3 separate regions of the Homo sapiens genome follow, and all the other regions are linked to region 1. Evidence: promoter capture Hi-C in 16 types of primary human blood cells and fetal thymus (Javierre and others, 2016). All regions are on one chromosome and are shown on one strand. The core of a region is centred on a gene start or on the middle of the fragment in contact, and the rest is flanking DNA. Distances in the headings are between cores, read along the strand shown.

What was found. Contacts are between HindIII fragments. The CHiCAGO score rates a contact against its expected background, and 5 or more counts as called.
Region 2: a contact is called between a fragment that was not itself captured here and the fragment with the promoter of SNRPA1 in region 1, in 7 of 17 cell types (M2 macrophages, megakaryocytes, M1 macrophages and 4 more). The highest score is 7.2, in M2 macrophages.
Region 3: a contact is called between a fragment that was not itself captured here and the fragment with the promoter of SNRPA1 in region 1, in 5 of 17 cell types (M0 macrophages, megakaryocytes, M1 macrophages and 2 more). The highest score is 9.4, in M0 macrophages.

Annotation. Positions count from the first base shown.
Region 1 is chr15:101,293,940-101,296,639 of GRCh38, forward strand. SNRPA1 (small nuclear ribonucleoprotein polypeptide A') reads right to left here and starts at 1,309. Exons shown (of 9, transcript NM_003090.4): 1 at 1,158-1,309. The coding sequence starts at 1,239. SNRPA1-DT (SNRPA1 divergent transcript) reads left to right here and starts at 1,409. Exons shown (of 2, transcript NR_186319.1): 1 at 1,409-1,790. RefSeq lists enhancers at 263-894, 1,458-1,507, 1,568-1,657 and a silencer at 1,038-1,227. The HindIII fragment of the contact is 2,362 bases long and covers 1-1,806 here.
Region 2 is chr15:101,031,069-101,033,768 of GRCh38, forward strand. All of the region lies in intron 20 of LRRK1 (leucine rich repeat kinase 1), which reads left to right. Among named protein-coding and RNA genes, the nearest start is that of LRRK1, 110 kb to the left of the region's middle. The HindIII fragment of the contact is 8,031 bases long and covers 1-2,700 here.
Region 3 is chr15:101,604,170-101,606,869 of GRCh38, forward strand. It overlaps LINC02348 (long intergenic non-protein coding RNA 2348), which reads right to left. Exons shown (of 3, transcript NR_147041.1): 3 at 1-1,866. Among named protein-coding and RNA genes, the nearest start is that of LINC02348, 8.8 kb to the right of the region's middle. The HindIII fragment of the contact is 806 bases long and covers 984-1,789 here.

The DNA.
Region 1 (2,700 bases), core at 59-2,558:
AGTGGTGAGTTGGGCCGGGCGCAGTGGCTCAAGCCTGTAATCCCAGCACTTCGGGAGACCAAGGCGGGCGGATCACCTGAGGTCGGGAGTTCGAGACCAGCCTGACCAACATGGAGAAACCATGTCTTTACTAAAAATACAAAAAATTAGCCGGGCGTGGTGGCGCATGCCTGTATTCCCAGCTACTCGGGAGGCTTGAGACACAGGAATCACCTGAACCGGGGAGGCGGCGGTTGCAGTGAGCCGAGATCACGCCACTGCGCTCCAGCTGGGGCGGAAAGAGCGAGACTCCATCTCAACACAACACAACACAAAACAGTGGGATTTCCCAAAGGTCGGCAAGAAATCTAAGCAGATCCCGCAGCGATGCTGCTCCGAGGCCATAGGTCCCCATGGGAACAAATCTCAGGCTACGACAGCATGGTCTTATCCTCAGAGAAGTTGCTCTATCACGTCCCTTTTAAAGCCGTCTCCTGAAATGCCAACTAGCTAGCTGCCCTCCCAGTATCTTACCAAGTCTTGCTAAGGTTGAAATAGTACAGGAATCTGAATAATTGCGAGCGCTTCCACAACTTACACACAGCACCCGGCGGTGCAAGCCTGGGTGACACAGTTCAATTTTTAAAACGTCTTCATATAGGGGAAACGCCAGACAATTAAAGCTACTAAGTAGAAAATACTGGAGGAAACAATCGCGGTTGTTCGGGGACTTAGTTTCCTCCCTCACATTAGGAATAATGAACACATATCCTATCTACGCTCAAAATATCATCTGGCGGCAAGTATTAAGAACCAATCCCGCGCCCTGCACTTGCGTTACAACCATTAATGAGCCGCTCTTCCGGGCCCTCAAACAGCCAGCGGCGAAACAGCCAAGCAAGGCCTAACAGGGCCCCACGAGGACGCACCAGGAAGTAATGAAGTCACCCGTGCCTGTCAAGAGGCACGGCGCTAACAGAAGGCTCCCAGGAGCTTAACCGGATGCTCATCTGGCAACAACGGCAAGAATCAGGCCCGGCGTTCCCTGCGCAGCCCGGTCGGAGCCCAGACAACCGGCCCGCGGGCCAAGCTCCGGCCTTCGGTGCACGCGGCAAAGCGCGGAAAATAAGGCGGCTCGGTGCCGCCTGGGGACTGGCCGCCCACGCCCCCGGACTCACCCCGGAGGTCCAGCTCCCGGTCGCGCACCGCGTTGGTGTACTGCGCCGCCTGCTCGATCAGCTCCGCCGTCAGCTTGACCATCCTGCAGCCTCCCGTTCCCCCGCGCTGTGGAAAGCCCGTGGCCTCCCGCCAGCGAGACGTCCCAGCGTGCCCCGCGCCCCGCCGCCAGGCAGCACCAATCGCAGCCGCCGAGTGCGCGCGCAGCTCGACCGCCAGGCCGAAGCAATCGAAGAGCCACGCCTCCGGGGGCGTTCTTGCCGGAAGTCGTGGCGCGCGCACAGGGGATGTGTCTCGTTCTGGGTTGTTTCCTAGGGTGTGTTTCGGAGTCTGGAGGACCCCTGATTCCAGACGTTGGTGTTTAAAAGTTAAGGCGAATGTGGAAACACCCGAGGGGAACTTTCTCATGCATTAGCGCACCTCGAGGTGGGAGGGGAAGCGGTGACTGTCCTCCCTCCACCAGCCGTCGCGGGAACCCGTGGGGTTCAGTGAAGGGTCCAGCAGTTCAGGTGCCCGCCCCGGGCCTGGGCCTTGGCTCCGGGCTACAGTGTGAGATCCCGGGCTAGGTGGCCCGCCTGGGGCAGGTCGCCGGGACAACCCCACCGCCCCGCAAGTCCAGCCCGGCCTCGGGCACGGTAGGGTTTGCGGTTAAGCTTGTGACCTTTAGACTTCTGAATATTCATATGTATGAAATGTGATATACATAAAAGTGTGCATATCAGGAATTTACAGTGATTAATGACCAGAGTGAACACAGCTGCGTAGCCGACACCGGGATCCAAAACACCGCTATTCTGAAAGCCTCCCTCTTTCCCAAAAGGCAACCGCGAACTCAACACTACAAATTCGGTTTGCTTGCTTTTGCTATAAATAGAATCATGCAGTATGCTTTTTTTTTTGGCCTAGTTTCATGGAGTCTATATTATGTCTGGAGTCCATCCAGGTTGCATACAGAGATGGTTTGTTTGCTTTTGCTGCTGAAGAGAATTCCATTGTATATATTATACCATAAATTACTTATTCTGCTGTTGATAGACATCAAAGTTGTTTTCAGTTAGGGCTATTCTGAGTAATGCTACTATGAATTTTCTGGTACGTGGTTCTGATGCACGTTTGCATGAGTTTGTCCTGGAGTGGGACTGCTGGGACATAGGGTATATCTATCATCAATAAGTAATGCCCAACAGTTATGCTAAGAGGCTGAAATAATATACACACTCCAGCGGTGTGTAAGGGTTTTCATGGCTTCCAGCTTCAGCCTTCTTGGCATTTTAACTCTATAACTTCAGCTATTCTGATGGGTGTGTGGTGGTATTGCACTACTGCTTTGCTTTGCTTTTCTCTAATAACTAATGAAGCTGAGAACCTTCTCATGTGTATGGTGCCCATTCTGATAGCTTCCTTGGTTAAGTGTTCTTTCGAGTCCCTGGCTCATTTTTTTTTTTTCCTTATGGAGTTGTCTGCCTTTTTTCTTATTGATTTGTGGAATTTCTTTATATATTAGGGATATGAACACACTCTGTGGCTTGCCTTTTCACTCTTAAT
Region 2 (2,700 bases), core at 54-2,553, 260 kb before region 1:
TGCAAATGCTGTTAATTCATCCCTTTTTATGGCTGAGTAGTGTTCCATCATAGGTAAAGTTTACTTACAGTGAAATGCCCGGATCGCTAGTGTTCAAAACAATGACTTTTGACAAATGCATACAACTGTGCAAGCAGCACCTGCCTCAAGACACAGAATGTTCCTGTCATACTGGAAGTTCCGCCAGACGCCCTTCCAGTCGCTTCCCATCCGTGTCAGCACCAGCACTCTGACTTCCAGCACCAGAGCCTACTGTTTCCTGTTCTTGAACTTCTCAACCGCACAGAGTCACGCAATATGGTCTCTAATTGGCTTCTCGCACTAAACATCATGCCTTTGAGATCCATCCATGCGGTTGTGTGTATCAGGAGTTTGTTCTTTCTGTTGCTGAGTAGTATTCCATTGTATGGCTTTACTGCAATTTGTTTATCCACTCAGCTCTTGATAGGCATTTGGATGGTTTCCAACTTTGGGCTATGATGAATAACACTGCTGTAAACAGTCTTAAGTCTTTTTGGAGACACATGTTTTCATTTCTCTTGGATCAAAACCAGGAGTGGAATTGCTGGATAATAGAGTGTAAGTTTAATTTTATAAGAAATCACCAGGCTGTCCCCCAAGAGACTGTATGCTCCTCCAAGAGACTGTACACTCCATTTCCTCCCCACTATTTTTTTTTTTTTTGAGATGGAGTCTCGCTCTGTCGCCCAGACTGGAGTGCAGTGGCACGATCTTGGCTCATTACAAGCTCTGCCTCCCGGGTTCTTGCCATTCTCCTGCCTCAGCCTCCAAAGTAGCTGGGACTACAGGCGCCCACCACCGCGCCTGGCTAATTTTTTGTATTTTTAGTAGAGACAGGGTTTCACCATGTTATCCAGGATGGTCTCGATCTCCTGACCTCGTGATCCGCCTGCCTTGGCCTCCCAAAGTGCTGGGATTACAGGGGTGAGCCACTGCGCCGGCCTCCTCCCCAATATTTGTTGTCTGTAGGTCTTTCTGATTTTAGCTATTCCAGTGGATGTGAGCTTGTACTTGACTGTGGCTTTACTTTACATTTTCTTCATGACTAATGAGGTCTAGCACCTTTCGTGAGCTTATTGGCCGTTGGTATATCTTCTTCTGTGAAGTGTCTATTCAAGTTTTATGCCTATTTTATGATTAGAATGTTTTCCTTTTTGGTACTGATATGTACTTCTTTATATCTTCTGGATACAAGTTCTTTTTTTTTTATTCTTTAAGTTCTAGGGTACATGTGCACAACGTGCAGGTTTGTTACATATGTACACATGTGCCATATTGTGCTGCACCCATTAACTCGTCATTTAACATGAGGTGTATCTCCTAATGCTATCCCTCCCCCCTCCCCCTACCCGATACAAGTTCTTTCTCAGATATATGATTTGCAAATATTTTCTCCCAGTCTGTGACTTCCTTTTTTTATATTAATGAAGTCTAACTTTTAAATTGTGTGATTATTGCTTTTTATGTCATCTTTAAGAAATATTTGCTTATACCACAATCTTGACAATCTTTCTTTATTTTTCTTCTAGAAGGTTTGTAGTTTAGCTTTTACTTCCAGGTCTATAATCTATGTCAAATTAATTTTTGTATATGGGGTGAAGTAGGGGTCGAGGTCCATTTTTTTCCTGTATATTATCCCATTGTTCCAGAACCATTTGTTGGAAAGACTTTCCTTTCCCCATGGAATTATCTTGGTTTCTTTATCAAAAATCAGTGATGTGGGTTTATTTCAGGACTCTATTTTGTTCCACTAATATATATGCCTATCCTTATGCCAGTGCCAAACCCCACTGATTATTGTAGCTTTAGAGTAAGACTTGAAATCAGGTTGCGTGAGCGTTTTGTATTAGTTTCCTGTGATTGCTGTAAGATACCATGAATGTGGCATCTTAAAACAACACACATTTTTCTGGAGGCCAGAAGTCCAAAGTAAGTTTCCCTGGTCCAAAGTCAAGGGGTCAGCAGGATCATGCTGCCTCTGAAGGCTCTAGAAGAAAATCCATTTTCTTATCTTTTCCAGTCTCTAGAGCTGCATTTCTTAGCTCACATTTCTTTTATCAATACATAATATTTTACGTATTTATGGGGTACAGGTGAGTAGTTTTTACATGTGTAGAATGTGGAATGATCAAGTCAGGGTATTTGGGGTATCCATCACTTTGAGTATTTATCCTTTCTATGTGTTGGTATCATTTCAAGTCCTGGCTTCTAACCACTTTGAAATATACCATATATTCTTGCTAACTATCGTCACCCTAGTCTGCTATTAACCATTAGAACTTATTTCTTCTAACTGTATGTCTGTACCCATTCACCAACCTCTCTTCCTCCCACTCTCACACCCTTCCTAGCTTCTAGTATCTGTCATGCTATTTTCTATCTTCATAAGATCAAGTTTTTTAGCTCCCACATATGAGTGGGAGCATGCAGTATTTGTTTCTCTTTGCCTGGTTTATTTCATTTAATGTAATGACTTACAGTTTCATCCATGTTGCTGCAAATGACATGATTTCATTCTCTTTTACAGCCAAGTAGTATTCCATTGTGTATATGGACCTTTCTTTATCCATTTCTCCATTGATGGACACTTAGGTTGGTTCCTTATCTTTGCTATTTTGAATAGTGCTGCAATAGATAAGGGAATCCAGGTATCCCTTTAATACCTGGGTTCTTTTCCTT
Region 3 (2,700 bases), core at 137-2,636, 310 kb after region 1:
GTGGCTACAATGACAACCTGGCTTCCCATTTCAGTGAAGAGACAGACACCATCAGAAAGTGCTTCTGCAAGCCCCCTCTACCCCTTCTATGCCGGCTCATCTTCCCACCCATCCTTCCCACCTAAAGCCAGCCCTCTGCCTATGCACCAGACATTGGCTTCTGCCTACTCAAGGATGTGTCCAGCAGGGCTTGCTTCTCTCGCCTGCATTGTTCATTTCCCCTTTGCAGGATCATTCCCATCAGATGCATGGATGAAACCTAGATGCCCCTTCCCCCAGTCCTCTCCGGCTACTGCTTCTCGTTCCCCTTTACAGCATAACTGAGGAACATGAAGGAGCATTATTCTCCCAGTCCTCTCCTCCAGCATAAACTGAGCCCACACTAGTCAGCTTCCCTCACCCTCCTCATCCCATGGAAATAGCTCTAGTCAAAGTCACTACATGCCCCTCCACTGCCACTCCTAATGTCAACTCTCAGTCCTTATCTCACATGACTCATTGGCACCATGGGAACCAGTTGGTCTCTGCCTCCTACTTAAAGCACTTTCCCCAGGAGGCTCCCAGGACCATGTACTCTTCCAGCTCTCTTCCAGACCCACATCCATTCCTCAGGCTCCTTAGTCTTTTCTCCTCAGCTCCCAGGCCTCTTGATGTCATTGCACCCTGGCTCAAGTTGGCCATTTTCTCCCCTCAATTGCAGTACCCCTGAGGCTTTCCATCCACCATGGCAGTGAGCTTGGAAGTGTGTTCTCCCCAGGCAAGCCTTCAGATGAGACTGCAGCCCCCGCCGACACTTTGATTGCAGCCTTGACAGGTGAGAGACCTTGAGTCAGAAGCAGCAAGCAAAGCCATACCCAGATTCTCACCCAGAAAAACTGAGAGATAATAAATGTTTGTGTTTTTAAAGTTTTAGAGTAATTTGTTGCATAGCAATAGATAATACATTCTTCTATGACCTACGCTTTGCCCTGTTTAAGCTTCGAAGCTTTCCCAATTCTAGCCTTCTGGCATCTAGAGGATAAATCTGTGCCTTCCTCAGTAGGTTCCCAGAATATAAGAGAAGTTTGATTTTAGAAAGATGATAATTTCTTCTGGCTGAGTGTGGTGTTTTATGCCTGTAATCCCAGCACTTTGGGAGGCTGAGGCAGAATAACTGCTTGAGACCAGGAGTTCAAGACCAGCGTGGGCAACATAGCAAGATCCTATCTCAAAAAAAAAAAAAACTAAAAAATTAGGCATGGTAGTGTCCACCTGTAGTCCCAGCTATTCAGGAGACAGAGACATGGGGATCATATGAGCCTAACAGTTCAAAGCTGCAGTGAGCTATGATCAAGCCACTGCACTCCAGCATGGGCAATAGAGCAAGACCCAGTCTCTATAATTTTTTTTTTTTAAAAGAAAGGTGATCATTTTATATAAGCAATTTTCTCCATGTGTTATGTTATTAAAGATTTAAACTGGACTCAGAGTTCAGCAGAGGGGAAGAATCAGTGTCCACTAATGTCCTGTTTTCTCTTCCTGCATGATTTGCGGCAACTTTGAAAACTCCCTTTTTCTTTGTGTGCCAAAAAGTCTGGCTTCTCAGCCTCATTCCCAAGCGGCCTTCTCTGGGTTATGGAAGGAATCCACTTGCCTCTGGAGGAGGGCTACGCAAAGATGTCCACCTCCTCACATATCTTGTAGGACCATGGCATGAGGCAGAGCCCTGGCCAAGTACTCCACGAACCAGATCCAGCTGAAGTAATTATTGCATTCCAAGATCCAAAGTGTATCCAGCCATGGGAACAAAAGCTTCATCTTATGTTCCAGTGGGACTGGCTGCTTGCAGTGCTCTGCGGAGAAGGATGTAAAGGCCAAGTTCACACTCTGTGGGAAAGAATGCCATGGTCAGTGATCAGCTAGTGATGTCTGTCATGATCACAGGGATGGGAAGTGGAGGCAGGCTTTCCACTGATGATGCTCCCTCCATTCCTTACAAAATCTTTCCCCCTTGTCCTGAAGGCCTTTTGAATAAGCTCTGCATCCAGTTGTGTCTAGGTACTTTTAAAAACAGAAAGGGCACAATCGGAAATGGCAGCCCAAGGCCCACCCAACCCCAGGTTAGGTCCCATTGATCTTGTCAACTGTTCATTCAAGAAAAGAAAGGCGGCTGAGCGTGGTGGCTCATGCCTGTAATCCCAGCGCTTTGGGAGGCTGAGGTGGGCAGACCACCTGAGATCAGGAGTTTGAGACCAGCCTGGCCAACATAGGGAAACCCCGTCTTTACTAAAAAAAAATAAAATAAAAAAATCAGCTGGGTGTGGTGGTATAGACCTGTAATCCCAGCTACTCAGGAAGCTGAGGCATGAGAATTGCTTGAACCTGTGAGGCAGAGGTTGCAGTGAGCCGAGATGGTGCCACTGTGTTCTAGCCTGGGCAACAGAGTGAGACTCCATCTCAAAAAAAAAAAAAAAAAAAAAAAAAAGGAAAAGAAAGGAAAGGCAGGCCAGACGAGAGGTCCAGGAAGTCAGGCAGGAAGCTGCAGGTTTGTGTTGGGTGGGAACATGGGGGTGATAGTAACCCGGCATAGGGCAGCCACAGGCAGTGAAGACAGAGGGAACAACAACCCCCCATCGATGGATTGTACTGGGAAGAAATGCAGAAAACTCACAGCCTCATCTTCCGCTGAAACACAGGCATCCTCGGAGGTGGTTGATCCAG